Linked DNA regions of Homo sapiens: regions 1, 3 and 4 are each linked to region 2. The links are contacts of gene promoters, found by promoter capture Hi-C in blood cells and fetal thymus (Javierre and others, 2016). All regions are on one chromosome and are shown on one strand. Each heading gives the region's core, a stretch centred on a gene start or on the middle of the fragment in contact. The rest is flanking DNA. Distances are from core to core; before and after follow the strand shown. Region 1 overlaps ADPRHL1 (ADP-ribosylhydrolase like 1). Region 2 holds the start of MCF2L-AS1 (MCF2L antisense RNA 1). Region 3 has its middle 26 kb from the start of GRTP1. Region 4 overlaps CUL4A (cullin 4A).

Region 1 (3,793 bases), core at 710-3,209, 440 kb before region 2:
TGTCGCCCTCCCTGATCTTCATGGCTTCAGGGGAAAATGGGCACAGAACAAGCAGCCATAAAAACAGAAGAGGCTGAGCTGGGCATGGTGGCTCATGCCTGTAATCCCAGCACTTTGGGAGGCTGAGGGGCATGGATCATGAGGTCAGGAGTTCGAAACCAGCCTAGCCAACATGGTGAAACCTCATCTCTAAAAAAATACAAAAATTAGCTGGGCGTGGTGGCGGGCCCCTGTAATCCCAGCTACTTGGGAGGCTGAGGCAGGAGAATGGCTTGAACCCGGGAGGCGGAGCTTGCAGTGAGCCGAGATCACGCCATTGCACTCCAGCCTGAGTGACAGAGAAAGACTCCATCTAAAAAAAAAAAAAAACAGAAAACAGAAGACCCCTGCTCAGCACACTCAGGGAGATGTGCAGAGGCACGTGGCCCTGCCCCTGGAAGAGGAGCATTGGCACCACAGCGACAAGAGCAGTTCCACAGGCACAGATGGAGCCACAGCCAGGATGTGTGCCCCCAGACAGGCCTGTAGTGCCCTGAGAGCATATCGGGGAGGCCGGGACTGAGCTGTAGAGGGGAGGGAAGCCGGGGGCTGAGCCGCAGAGGGCAGGGAGGCTGGGGACTGAGGGAGGGAGGGTGGGGGCCAATCTGCCAAGGGGAGGAAGGGGGGGCGGCTCCAGGCTCATCCGCAGAGGGGCAGGAAATGGCAGTGCAGGCCTCTGGTGTTGATGGAGGCCCAGGACATGTTTTCTAAGCGCTGTTGGCCGAGGGCATCCAAGTGTCCCTGTCAGAAACATGTGGAGGCTGGCACAGGGATGTGTGTGACATGGCTGAGGCTGGTCCGTGTTCTGAGCAGGCTCCTGGAACAGCCAGACAGTTGCAGGCCCAGCTGCCACGTGAAACCGGCCCTGCCCTTCTCTCAGAGGAGGAAACTGCGGCTGAGGGTGTTCCCTGCCGCAGGGCCAGGCTCGGGTGAGCCCAGCACAGCCACTGACTGGGCAGAACAGTGACCTCCAGGCCCTGCTGGCCAGAAAGTCCCCAGCAAAGAACCTGCCAACAGGGGCTGCTGTCCATATCATGGTGGGCCCGGGTGTGTCTCCTGCGCTGTGATGGCCTCTAGTCTCATTGTATTTTCAAACGACCTCTCTGGCTGGCCAGAGCCACCAACAACTAAATTAGGAAAGCCGGGCACCCTGCTGTTTATATTGGCCCCTGGGAGGAAGACATTCCATTCCCTGTGGGTTCTGCAGCTTGTCCAAGTGCTGAGGGGACGCTGAGGGAGGCCCGGTCTCGCCCCGCACTGCTGGGCGGGCAGCGGTCACACAGGGCAGCCCAGACTCCGCCAGCGCAGCTCTGACCGGGGGCCTTTTCAGGAGGCTTTGAGGGGTGGGGCTGACGGCCCAAGGGGCAGCACTGGCTCCAGCGCATGAGGACGCGTTCACTCAGCAGCAAGGTGTGCAGCAGGGGTGGGAAAGGGCGAGAGGCCCACCTTCACAGCAAGTGAAGGCCCCGATCACAGGGCGCCTCGGGAGACACGCAGAGCCCCACGCGGGAGTCGCCGAAAGTCCTGGGCCCCCCTCTCAGTCCATGACTTGGGGGCGTTCCTGGCGTCCACGCTGTTCCCCTTTGTGGGGACATAGAGGTCTGTGTGGGTCACCGTGGGGCTCACAGAGCTGGGCCTCTGGGAAAGGCTCCCTGAGGTGGGGGCATCTGAGCCGGGTTGTGAAGGATGAATAGGAGCTCGTCAGGGAGGCAGCGAGGCTGTTCCAGGCTGAAGGGCACAGCGAGGTTGGGCGTGGAGTGGACAAACAGGGTGGAGGCTGGAGCTGGCAGAAAAGGGGGTGGCCAGGAGAGAAACAGGGTTGTGCAGTGGGTGAACCGAGTTCTGCGAGGCGCTGTTGGCGGTGGGTGAACCGAGCTCTGCGAGGAGCTGTTGGCGGTGGGTGAACCGAGCTCTGCGGGGCGCTGTTGGCGGTGGGTGAACCGAGCTCTGCGGGGCGCTGTTGGCGGTGGGTGAACCGAGCTCTGCGGGGCGCTGTTGGCGGTGGGTGAACCGAGCTCTGCGGGGCGCTGTTGGCGGTGGGTGAACCGAGCTCTGCGGGGCACTGTTGGCGGTGGGTGAACCGAGTTCTGCGGGGTGCTGTTGGCGGTGGGTGAACCGAGCTCTGCGGGGCGCTGTTGGCGGTGGGTGAACCGAGCTCTGCGGGGCGCTGTTGGCGGTGGGTGAACCGAGTTCTGCGGGGTGCTGTTGGCGGTGGGTGAACCGAGTTCTGCGGGGCGCTGTTGGCGGTGGGTGAACCGAGCTCCGCGGGGCACTGTTGGCGGTGGGTGAACTGAGCCTCCGGGGCACTGTTGGCGGTGGGTGAACCGAGCCTCCACGGGGGCTGTTCGCCACCCACGGGTCTTCTGCCAGCCCGCCCGGCTGTGCCCAACGCTGCTCTGGACTCGGGAAAGTAGAGACCAGAACCAACAGGGGTCCCGCCCATGCAGGGGCTCTGCTCTAGTGGGGAGCTGGGCAGAAACAGGGGTGACTTGTTGAAAAGTGCACTCGGATCTTAGAAAATTATAGAGCTGTGGCTGGGCGCGGTGGCTCACGCCTGTCATCCCAGCACTTTGGGAGGCCGAGGCAGGCGGATCACGAGGTCAGGAGATCGAGACCATCCTGGCTAACATGGTGAAACCCCGTCTCTACTAAAAAATACAAAAAATTAGCCGGGCGTGGTGGCGGGCGCCTGTAGTCCCAGCTACTCGGGAGGCTGAGGCAGGAGAATGCTGTGAACCTGGGAGGCGGAGCTTGCAGTGAGTCGAGATCGCGCCACTGCAGTCCAGCCTGGGCGACAGAGCAAGACTCCGTCCCAAAAAAAAAGCAAATTATAGTGCTGTGACAGTAGTCACCCGGGATGTGCCAGCAGCAGCAGCACACGCTGAGCTGGGGGCTCCCAGAATCCCCCAACCAGTGAAACCCAGAGCACAGAACATGCTGAGCCGGGAGTAGACCCCGGAAGAAGGAACCACCCGCAGGTTCAAGGAACCCAAAGACAGCAGCACCTCTGGGGCTACCACGAGGGGCGGGGACCAGAGAGGGTGAGCGCAATAGTGGGCGGTGGGCGCAGGACTTTGTGACGAGAAGGGGCAGCCCAGGGGAATGGCAGGACAGCAGGGAGCAGGGGAGTGGCCAGGCCAGACCCAGGGAGGAACTTGGTTAATGATGATTGCAAAACACAAAGGCTCTGTGAAGGGGGCTGTGGAAACCCCTCTCGCTCCCGCCAAGGGCGTCATCCTGAACCGCGGACGCCTCCGACAGCCACAGGTCCATGGCTGAGGACACCTCAGCAAGGCGGGGCTCACCCCAAAGAGGACTTTGTAGCTCTGGCCGAATCCCCTAATCCTCAGCCAATAAACCCAGAAGAGCATCCTGATCTCTGTGAGTGAAAACGTGTCTCAGATGATCACGCTGCGGGGTGAAAGCCGGCTGTGACAGCTGAAGAGCTGGACCGGGTGGCCAAGTACGTCCTCCACGCTCACCGCTGGTTGCTGGCCAGGTCTTGATGACACGCTGACCTCATAAGTGGTTACAGACTTAGATGTGCGGTGGAAGAGCTAAACTGGATTTTGAGCCACTATGACTCATAAGGAGGACATGCAGCTAGTCCAACCTATGAGGATCCACTGACATGGCCCCACCACCCAGAACAGACGCTCAGCCTCGACAAGGGGCTCCGAGTGTGGGGAGTGGTCCCGTCACCAAGCTGCCCACCACCTGAGGCCAGGGCAATGGGAATTTAGAAATCAGCCTG
Region 2 (3,727 bases), core at 467-2,966:
CTCAGAATCCATCGGGGTGGGCAGAGAAAGAGAACCACACCCAAACCAAGCAACTGACATTTTAATCTCCCAGGCAAGTACTAGTTAGACAACTAGTAATGGCATATATGACATAACATATGGCAACATCAGGCAAAACACTTGGCAACTTACTTTTAATGATATATCATTATTTCCTCTTCATTTCAAGGAAAACGAGTTAAGGATGCCTCTCCCTTCTGCATAACACAGCCTGAGAACTCAGATGCGACCGCCTGAAAGCCACGGCCAGATGCAAGCTGTCAGCCCAGTCTCTGCTTACACCTAAAAGAATCGATCTGAACTACTCTTCAAAGCTTATTTGAAGTAATATTTCGATTAATACTGAAAATGAACGTCCAGTCCACTCTTTACCCATACCGTCTCAAACATCTGTCTTAGGTTTAAATTGCATTTAATGAAGAAAAGAACCACCTGATTAGTCCAGGTTTTTTCATCCTCAAAACGAGCTTCCAGGTAGCTTCACCATCCCTACCCCTGGCTCTGAAACCCCAAGCTCTGAAAGCCCTTGGCTCAGATCATTCTCCATTCGCAATGCATTCTCCATTGCGAGGGCTGCGGACAGGCAGGTTGATGGGCAGACTTCAGACACACAAATGGCTCCGCATGCAGACCCAGCAACCCTGAGAGAGCCAGTGTCACCAACGTGCAGTCATTTTGACTATCCCGGGCAGCATACGATCGCCGACAGCCTCTGAAAACACACCAGCTGCCAACCAGTGCCCCCCATGTCACAGCTACCACGGCTAGAAAGGAACACGAGGGCGGCTTACAAAAATCAGACGCATTTCCCCACATTTCAGCCCATGATGTCAAGCTTAAGCACAGATCACTGACGGCCAGCAGCTCCTCCTACCCGTGTGCTTGGAAACCGCATTTAATCTCTGCACCATTTCTTCCAAGGCCATCTCTTCAGTCCTCAGCCAAAACCTCATCCTCCGACACAACAAAAATGATCCTGGCAGATCCGCTTCCTCCGCACGGGGGGCGCCTGCGGGTGGGGCCGTGCGAGTGCGGAGGGGGCGCGGCGGAGGCGGGGAGGGGGCCACGGCAGCGCTTTCAGCCTCCAGCCGCCGCCTCCCTGCCCAGGATTGGTTCCGCGCCACCGGGAGGGGGGCGCGCGCTGCGCCGCGGGGGGCGGGGGGCGGCTCGGCGGAAGCGGAAGCGGCGCGCGCCCGCCCCGGTGTGTCACCACCGCGGGTCACCTGGGAGTCCTGTGAGTGCACCGCCGGGGTCACCTGGGAGCCCCGCGTGTCACCGCCGCGGTCGTCGGGGAGCCCCGGGGCTCACCAACGAGGTCACCTGGGAGCCCCGCGGGTCACCGCCGCGGTCACCTGGAAGTGTCACCTGTGTCACTAGGTCACCTAGTGTATCACACAGGTCACCTAGAAATTCGTGTCACCGCCAAGGTCACCTAGAAATTCGTGTCACCGCCGAGGTCCCCTGGGAGCCCCGCGGGTGCCGCACAAGTGCCCCCGCCCTTCCCCCCGGTTCCGGGTCTCCACGCCCTCCTGGTTTGCGGGCAGCCGCGAAGCCGCGAGTGGACCGAGCGAGTGCAGCTGCCTCCGCGGGGCCGCGCCTGGCCGCCGCCTCCCTTTACCTCCGGCCGCCCCGTGGCAGGTGTAGAAGCTGCAGAGGCCGCAGCAGCCCAGCGCGCCCCTTCCGTGTGGCCGCATGCCACCCGCGCCGCGCCCAGGTAAGCAGGTCCGTGGGTCGCTGGGTCCATGCGTGGGTCCGTGGCTGGCCGGGGATGGACCAGCCCCTCCCCGCAGGGGCATCGCCTGCCCAAGGACGCAGGACCCAGTGAGGGAAGCGCGCGCTGCAGGCACGGGGCTCTCCACCCTCGCCATGGTTGGCACCAAGCCACACTGTGCACTCGACACACGCAGCGTCCTGGCTGCCACCTGCAGATTCCAGCTCGTGTCTATGCAGGGCCATGGCCGCCATCACAGGGCCATATGCAAGAAACTCTCTGAGCTCTCCTCGCCCAAAACCGCAGCTATCCTTTTGTGGTTTGGTATTATAGGTAACATGCCCTTCCTTAAAGAAACAGTATTTCAGGCCTGTAGTCCCAGCTACTCCGGAGGCCGAGGCAGAAGCTGAGGCAGAAGCAGGAGGATCATTTGAGCCCAGAAGTTTGAGCCTGGGCAATGTAGCAAGACCCCCCCCCCCACCTCACTCCCCAATCAGTTAAAAGAGAGAGAGAGAGAGAGAGAATTCCAGCAGGAAGAAGTACACATTTCCACGAATGGTTTGGGAATTCAAGCATCATATGGCTGAGGTTTGAACTACAGCTCATGCCAATAACATGTGCACATGCGCCAGCATTCCAGCGTCCAACAGAGCATGCGTGCACCATTCCAGCATCCGGCAACAATGCACCAGCATTCCAGCGTCCAACAGAGCATCCGTGTACCATTCCGGCATTTGGCAACAATGCACCAGCATTCCAGAGTCCAACAGGGCATGCGTGCACCATTCCAGCATCCGGCAACAATGCACCAGCATTCCAGCGTCCAACAGAGCGTGCGTGCACCATTCCAGCATCCGGCAACAATGCACCAGCATTCCAGCGTCCAAAAGAGCATCCGGCAACATCCCGGTGTCCAGTGGCACATGTGCACCTGGACGTTCCAGTGTGGTGAGCTTTCAGGCACGGAGCAAGGCCAAAGGGATAAAAAGATGAAGGTGACGCAGTACTCCCCCTTATAGTGCCTACAGGCCTTATAGGCCAGACAGATCTGGAAATAAATAATTCATAATAAAAAATAATTACAGAATAAGAGGCATAATAACCAGATAGAAAGTATTGAATAAATCTGTAAGAAATGGCTGCTTTGTTTTTGTTTTTGTTTAACATGAGAAACGTATTGAGTATCAGCAGTTTCACTTGGTTCTACAGAATCTCTTTGGAGACCAGTGAAAGGAGAACTCTGGAAAGGCCTCAGAGTGGATGGGAGCCTCTCCCTCTGTGGACAAGCGTTCCCTGGGCTGCCCAGGGTGCCTACGGCGGCACAATTGCTACCTCCTGTCTACACATGGTCTGCAAAAAGTGCCCTCAAATGGGTCTGCTCCTCTCATTCCCTGTCAGTTCAGGGAACCTTCACCACTCCCCATCCCCCACCGCCCCCCCACCCCAACCCTGCCCCTCCAGCTTCAGGGAAAGCCTGTCATCAGGCAGAAGGGTCCTGAAATGCAGGCCCTGCCCTTTCCACTAGTCTAAGGCACAACACCCTCCCTGGTCCTCAGCCCACACGGCCCTAGGCCACACTCCCTCTGAGCACCTGCCCTCTTCTCCCGGCCGCTCTCCTGGCATGCAGGTGCCCTCCAGCCTGCCCAGCCTTGGGCTGCGTCAGGATCTACCGAGGACTTGTTAAGCTCACACAGCTGGGCTCTGATGGCTCCTTGCTGATCCAGGAGGTCTGGGATGGGGCCCGAGGATGTGCATTTCTAGCAAAATTTCCTGGGATGTTGAATGTGCTGGTCCACACTTTGAGAAACACTGCTGAAATCTGTTGCATCTTAAAAGCAAGATGAAAGGAAAGGGCCACACCCTCTGGCCTGTCCCGCTTCTCCGATCTCCCTCTTCACCCCTTGGGCATCTCCACACATGCTATTGGCTTCTTTCCTCAACCCTGTGCCATCCACTCTGTCCCCTGGCCAATATCCTCTGGCTGGCACCATGTCA
Region 3 (3,494 bases), core at 802-3,301, 420 kb before region 2:
ATGTGTCCAAGAAAAGCTCAAGGAGGAAAGAGAGTCAACCAAATTCACTTTCGGAGCACCTCCCACAGTAGAGAGGTTACGCGGGCTACAAAATTGTATGAAAACCTCCCTACCCTGGAACTTGGGTGAAGCTTGAGGACACCATGCTGAGTGAAATTAGCCAGACACAGAAGGACAAATTCTGTGGGATCCCACTTACGTAAGGGTGACAAGAAGGAAGAGGCTGAGGTGCAAATTATGATTTAAAGAGTTGACTTGAGCCAAGGTGAGGACAGCTGCCTGGGAGACTCGAGTGGCCTTGGATATGAGCCCCATTAGGCCTTTATTACAATCAGGATTTTAAAGGCAAAAAGGGGAACAGGGAGTGGCTGATACAAAGTTGTTTTTCAGGAATTCTTGTTGGTTGACAGAAATAACATTGATTAGTGATGGGCTGTGCACCGTTGAGCTGCAGGGTGTGGGTTGCAGGGTGGGGGATGGCATTGTTAGGTTAATTCACAGCTAGCAAGTTCCAAGACATCAACACACAGCTCAATGTGTTGGAGGGAGATATCTGCAGTTGTTACCAGACAGGGGTCCCGATCCAGACCCCCAGAGGGCGTTCTTGGATCTCGCGCAAGAAAGAATTCAGAGCGAGTCCATAGAGACAAGTGAAACCAGTTTATTAAGAAAATAAAGAAATAAAGAATGGCTACTCCATAGGCGAGCAGCTGAGGGCTGCTGGTTGCCCATTTTTATGGTGATTTCTTGATGATATGCTAAACAAGGGGTGGATTATTCATGCTCCCCTTTTTAGACCATATAGGGTAACTTCCTGACGTTGCCATGGCATCTGTAAACTGTCACGGAGCTGGTGGGAGTGTAGCAGTGAGGATGACCAGAGGTCACTCTTGTGGCCATTTTGGTTTTGGTGGGTTTGGCCGGCTTCTTTGCTGCAACCTGTCTTATCAGCAAGGTCTTTATGATCTATATCTTGTGCCAATCTCCTATCTCATCCTGTGACTTAGAATGTCTCACTTCCTGGGAATGCCGTCCAATAGGTCTCAGCCTCATTTTACCCAGCTCCTACTCAAGATGGAGTTGCTCTGGTTCAAACATGCCTGACATTTTCTCTTTCCCTTTTATAAGAGAACCCTTAATCCTAAGAGTTGCAGGGGGATGAAGATCCATCTTCTGTAACTTCTTCAGGCTGAATAGGGGCGATGACATTCCTGCCTAACTATTAGGGTCCCTTGTGTTCAGGGTAGAGAGGAGCACAGTCAGAAGGCATCAGTGTGGTGAGGGCTATTCATAACTCTTAAGTTCCAACAAAAGGTGATATCTGGGCAATTAATAAGTGTTCAGTTTAAGAAAACATTGAGCAAGTTTATTTTGCATACCTACACAGAGTACAACAACAATATATTCCACAATAGTAAAGCAAAATAAGTACAATTATTCCAAGTAAACTAAATTAGAAGGCTTTTCATGAACTGGGCAACTATTGGAACCAAGATGATGTGAGGTTGCTAGCCAATTCTAGTGTGCCCAGAATTAGAATATTGATTCAGATTTTTACATTACCCATCCCTCTTATTTCTTCTGAGCAGCAGTCAGAGTTCACTGGTTGGTTCACAGGAATAAGCAAGGTTAGCCTAAATTCCAGAAGCAAATCTAAAAACAACTGATGAGACTAGAATTTAAAAACAACATACCACAGTTCCTGAAACATAATATTTCTCTCTCTAGTTTCCCATTTTTACTAAAGGCAAATCATGGTAAGACTGATTTACTTTATTATACTTGGCCTGATTATTTGTATAAAGGGCAGCAAGAATATTTTTCACATAGGTTCTTTTTAAATTGGCTTTGATGGAACTCTGTTCCGTAGAAGGAATCTTAGCTAAGACTCTTTTAGAACTGAGCCCCGCCATGGGTTTGTACCCTCAAATACCTGTAAGTTGAGTAAATTTCTCTCCTCTTGAGTTTCCAAGATAACTTGGGGCTCCTGGGCCTGTGAGAAAGTGACTTTTTTTTTTTTTGAGACCGAATCTCGCTCTGTTGCCCAGGCTGGAGTGCAGTGGCATGATCTCTGCTCACTGCAAGCTCCGCCCCCCCGGGTTCATGCCATTCTCCTGCCTCAGCCTCCTGAATAGGTGGGACTACAGGTGCCCGCCACCATGCCCCGCTAATTTTTTGTATTTTTAGTAGAGACAGGGTTTCACCATCTTAGCCAAGATGGTCTCAATCTCCTGACCTCATGATCCACCCGCCTCAGCCTCTCAAAGTGCTGGGATTACAGGCATGAGCCACCGCACCCAGCATAAAGTGACATTCTTTACTTACCACGGGTCAGGAACTCTGTATAAGGACTGTGGAGAGAACGTATCAGGTCAGTTTTCCCAAGGGGCTTTATCAGCTCTATAAGTCACGTTTAATTTCTTAAAGGAAAACACATCATTCTAGTCAAATCCTTGGTAAAATAAGCAGTTTCTCCAATTGTGTCCTGTTGCAAAAGAAAACAGATTCCTGGCCAGGCACAGTGGCTCACACCTGTAATCCCAGCGCTTTGGGAGGCCGAGGCAGGCAGACCACCTGAGGTCAAGAGTTCAAGACCAGCCTGGCCAACATGGTGAAACCTCATCTCTACTACAAATACAAAAATTAGCCAGGTGTGGTGGCTGGCACCTGTAATCCCAGCTACTTGGGAGGCAGAGACAGGAGAATTGCTTGAACCTGGGAGGCGGAGGTTGCAGTGAGCCGAGATCATACCATTGCACTCCAGCCTGGGCAACAGAGCAAGACTCTGTCTCAAAAAAAAAAAAAAAAAAGAAAACAGATTCTTATTGCACTTATGCAAATAGCTATATTGCCATAAATTAAGAATACTCACAACTAGTTCCCAAATTTTGGAGAAATTAGGTAGAGAGAAACAAATATGCTCCAAATTTTATTCATACAAGTATACTTATTCAATTGTTAAAAGCTATAACTCGCTCAAAAGTTTCCTTGATTCTGAAAAACAAAACAAAGGATCAGCAATATTTTAAGCAAAAAGTTAAAAAGATTACTTCTGGTTTCTATTAGTTTAGTCCATGTAGTTAACTTCTGTTTGATATTCATGGACATTTCAGCTCTCCATAAGAATTCTAAAAGTTTTTTCCTCTATTCTGATGTCACCATCACCAGTTATCGGAAACCTGCACTCAAGAACATCTGTCAAAGTCCTGTAGCTGATTATAAACCACCTTCTAAAGAGGACCAAAACAAGACAACCATTGTTTGTGGATGACAAAACATCTTCGGACAGCCATCATTAAAGCCACAACTGATAAGGAAATTTGATTACTTCTGTGGCATACAAAATTTTACATAACAATTATATCTATTAATAACATACACTAAATCATGTGAGAATTATAGGAGTTTTAAAAGTAATTTTGGAACACATACCAATAACACATTTATATATACAAATACAGCCCAAAGAAAACCAAATACCATTTTATATTTGA
Region 4 (3,634 bases), core at 30-2,529, 270 kb before region 2:
GCTTTCGAAACATGAAAGTGAAAGTTTAAGTAATAAATCCTAAATTTGGACCGTTAAGAAATAAAGTTTATAAAGCAAACTGATATGCCAAATATATAATAGTTCTCCCTGAGGAAAGGGCATGAGGAGATCATGTCTGACAAGCAGATTTACAAAAATGATTACTTTAGGAAAAATCATGATTTAGAATTAAACCAATATTTATGCTGATGAAGAAGAGCAAAACAGTTGTTCTTTAAGTTATACTTTCTACCTTGATGGTGCTAATCACTGCTGGTGTTATCCTAAAAAGCAAATTCACACTGGTGATTGGGAAGCAGATGGAAGCCTACTGTCCACCCTATCATCTGTGATGAAAATGCAGACGGGCCCTCCAGCAGCCCAGTTCCCTTTGCCAGGGCACACTAGGCGTTCTCAGGAGGGGCTCTGCTCCCTGCAGGGAATGCCCACGCCCGCGGCCTCAAAACCCCGCCAGTACCTTGATGTACTCGCTCCAGTGCTGCAGCAGCGCCTGCTGCCCGCCCCTCACCCGGCTGAACAGCTGGTACATCTGTGCGAGGTCCGGCACTCTGTTCTCATCCAGTAAGTGGTCGAGCCCTGAGATGTGCAGTACACGTCAGCAGAGTACAGCATGGGCAGCATTAACAACAACTCAACTAGAATACAGCGTGCACCAGAAGAACGTCAATACACCGCTTAGAAATTGGGCGGGTCTCCACATCGCTGCCTCTACATGAGCAGGTTGATCTGGTTAAATATGTGAGATGGATCCTATTAGGTGAACCTCATTTTCTCTGAGTATGTTGGAAGATGTATTATTTACTTCTTTATGTCATTGAAGCCCTCTTATTTCACTTAAGTTAGCAAGTCAGAAAATCCAGTTTACACCAACTATTTAACCTGGGAGGTTCATGTTCTCAATCTACTTCTGATTTAGTCCATCGGCCAGACAATGTAAAAGGACAAGCTATCAAATCTAATTTATAGTGGATTAAATTTATTCACACCTATAGTAAACTATAAGAGAAAAACATCATCGGATATTTTGAAGTGTTTAACACAGCATTTAAAAAAGCTTTCAGTGTTTTAGATTTTTAATATTTATAACGGTTTTCTGAAACCATACCTCAATGAGAAAAACTCTCATAGATTTTCTAAATACTTGCTTTATGATAACTACTGAGAGGCAGCCAGGTTAAAGCATAAAATGGTGAACAGTCATACAATTCACAAAGTCTCAGATTCTGCCTACACTGGGCACGATGTTCACACAAACGAGGAGGTTTAAAGCTGTGCGCAAACACATGGTGGGGCTATAATTACAATCCTCACCTAGAGCTCCAAATGTTTATTTCTCTCAATTACATTCTGATCTACTGACACAAACTTTTTATACTTTATTTTACTAAAACCCATGTCTTAAGAATTCAAAAGTATCTTTTTAATTTTTAAAATATTTCTAATAAAATTTAGGGTAAGCTTTTACATATATAATTTACCATTTTCTTTAAATAATTTTGCTTAACAAAGTATGCACTGGAACAATTTATGCAAATTTCTACTATTTACTTGAAATCTTTTTTCTCTTTTTTTTTTGAGACAGGTCTCTTGCTTTGTCACCCAGGTTTTTGTAGTTTTGTAGCCTTAACCCCCTGGGCCAAAGTGATCCTCCCACCTCACCCTCCTGAGTAGCTGGTACCCTAGGCATGCACCACCTGTGGCTTTAAAAAAAAATTTTATTTTTATTTTTTTGGTAGAGACAGGGTCTCTCTTTGTTGCCCAGGCTGGTCGTGAATTCTTGGGCTCAAGTGATCCAAAGTGATACTTTGGCCTCCCAAAGTGCTGATGTCACAGGTATGGGCCACTATGCCTGGCCTTTTTTCTTATAAAGTGACTCCTTTCATAAAAACACCTGACACAAATTCTGAATGCATTTGTTTTTAGGTGGATAGGTGATGTGTAGGTTTCAGTGTGGAATAAGCAGAAACATCATAACCAGATTGGACCCGTGACTCTCAGCTCACAAGCAATGTGATTCCAGGCACCAACATCTGGCTGTTTTAAGCCCTGGTTTTCTTATTTGTAGAATGGGGATAATGATTTCACAGAATTGCTTGAAAAGATATTCACATCAAGTGGAGTTGTTTGTAACAGGAGATGCTCAATCATGTTAATTCTCCTCCCTTTTGGTTTTATTCTGGTTTCACTTAAGTATCTCATTAGCCATAATACTATTATCTGACAATGTAGAACCCAAAGCAGAATATATTTGAATACCATTTAGGGCCTTCTCAAAATTAAACTTTAAGGTTTCCAATGGCTTGAAAAAAGTCTCGTATTTTCCAAATACATTTAAAATGACTTTCAGAAGGTAACATTGTTTCAAATGGTAACAGTGAAATGTGCCAGTAAGTACTAAAGTGTTACAAAGGTTAGACTGCTCATTGTAATTTTCATAGAATTCAGCACACTTTGAAGCCTAGAAAAAACAGCAATAAACAAAGATCGAGGTAAGACATCAGCATCAATTTTAAAGGTGCAGGCTGCTAGAAGCCACCTTCCTATGGCCAGGTACTGCCACCACTTGGGGAGAAGCGGACGTGAAGGCCGCGCCGTCAGCACTAGAACACATGCTCTTCTCTTCCAGAAAACCAGGAGAAAAGTATACTCTGCTTAAGCAGACCACCTAGTCGGTAGTTCATCTGACACTAAGATGCACGAAGTCCGCAGGTGAGGGAAGCCTCACGAAAATCTAACAGCCCGAACAGCTCCCCGAGTCCCCTACATCCGAGTGTGCATGAAGAACGGCCGGACACAGGAAATGAGTCTGCTCAGAGAGCTGCAACAGGCTCACTGCACCCATGTTTCAGCATGAGTGTGGTACAGAAGGTCTGCCGGGCCTTCCTGCCACTGGGGTTTTAGCAGTGAATGTAGTTCCACTAGGTGCCTTCCATTATTTCTCTTACTGATTTTTTTTTCTCCCGTGGATGGCTAACATGTTCATTAGAAAAGATTTTTAATGACTGTCTTATGAAAATAACAAACGTCCTAACACTGCTATTTGTAATGCCCCCTTTACTTTCCTAATGAACTAAGGATAATTGTTCAGTTTAATTTGCACAAGAGTTAGGAAATCTACCTTTCTGCAGAATTGCTGTTAAATGTTCTCCTAATAGCTGTTTCTCCACACAAGCAATCAGTGGTTTCCTATATAAGGTAAAAAGAATAAGCGTTAGAAGTAAAGTTTAAAGAAGAGACTGGTTCTCTGCAAAAGATGGGGGCATTTGTCTATGACAGATGCAGTCTAGAGGCAATCAGAAACGGAAGGTTAAGAACATTTCCTCATGCAAACGGACGACGACTCCTGTTGCTAATGACGCTGAAGGAAGCCCTTTCTAAAAACCACCTACTGAACAGCACAAGCAGGCCCACGGGCGGGCCCAGGGAAGCAGGGATGCTTCTGCGTTATTCCAAGGATTGCTGATTTTAGCCATCTTCCCAAGCCTTCATTTCCAGTTTATAAGGAACGTTTTAATGCACCATCTTACGGAGAAGGGCAGAGCCGACATTCCGCCTTCTGCTTCCTACACAGGCAGAAAGGGCTCAGGGAAGCTGTGTGTGACCTGCACACCCT

What was found. Contacts are between HindIII fragments. The CHiCAGO score rates a contact against its expected background, and 5 or more counts as called.
Region 1: a fragment that was not itself captured here is called in contact with the fragment with the promoter of MCF2L-AS1 in region 2 in 2 of 17 cell types (M1 macrophages and M2 macrophages); the score reaches 5.8 in M1 macrophages.
Region 3: a fragment that was not itself captured here is called in contact with the fragment with the promoter of MCF2L-AS1 in region 2 in 4 of 17 cell types (naive CD8 T cells, total CD8 T cells, total CD4 T cells and 1 more); the score reaches 8.0 in naive CD8 T cells.
Region 4: a fragment that was not itself captured here is called in contact with the fragment with the promoter of MCF2L-AS1 in region 2 in 1 of 17 cell types (naive CD8 T cells); the score reaches 5.5 in naive CD8 T cells.

What each region holds. Positions count from the first base shown.
Region 1 is chr13:113,411,256-113,415,048 of GRCh38, reverse strand. All of the region lies in intron 7 of ADPRHL1 (ADP-ribosylhydrolase like 1), which reads left to right. Among named protein-coding and RNA genes, the nearest start is that of ADPRHL1, 40 kb to the left of the region's middle. RefSeq lists an enhancer at 3,439-3,793. The HindIII fragment of the contact is 9,349 bases long and covers 1-3,793 here.
Region 2 is chr13:112,966,627-112,970,353 of GRCh38, reverse strand. MCF2L-AS1 (MCF2L antisense RNA 1) reads left to right here and starts at 1,716. Exons shown (of 1, transcript NR_034002.1): 1 at 1,716-2,870. It overlaps MCF2L (MCF.2 cell line derived transforming sequence like), which reads right to left and starts at 1,140. Exons shown (of 30, transcript NM_001112732.3): 1 at 896-1,140. The coding sequence starts at 974. RefSeq lists a silencer at 1,205-1,264 and an enhancer at 1,466-1,985. The HindIII fragment of the contact is 5,254 bases long and covers 859-3,727 here.
Region 3 is chr13:113,388,376-113,391,869 of GRCh38, reverse strand. No RefSeq gene overlaps it. Among named protein-coding and RNA genes, the nearest start is that of GRTP1, 26 kb to the right of the region's middle. The HindIII fragment of the contact is 3,835 bases long and covers 134-3,494 here.
Region 4 is chr13:113,236,396-113,240,029 of GRCh38, reverse strand. It overlaps CUL4A (cullin 4A), which reads right to left. Exons shown (of 20, transcript NM_001008895.4): 9 at 3,140-3,207; 10 at 479-597. Among named protein-coding and RNA genes, the nearest start is that of MIR8075, 25 kb to the left of the region's middle. The HindIII fragment of the contact is 404 bases long and covers 1,078-1,481 here.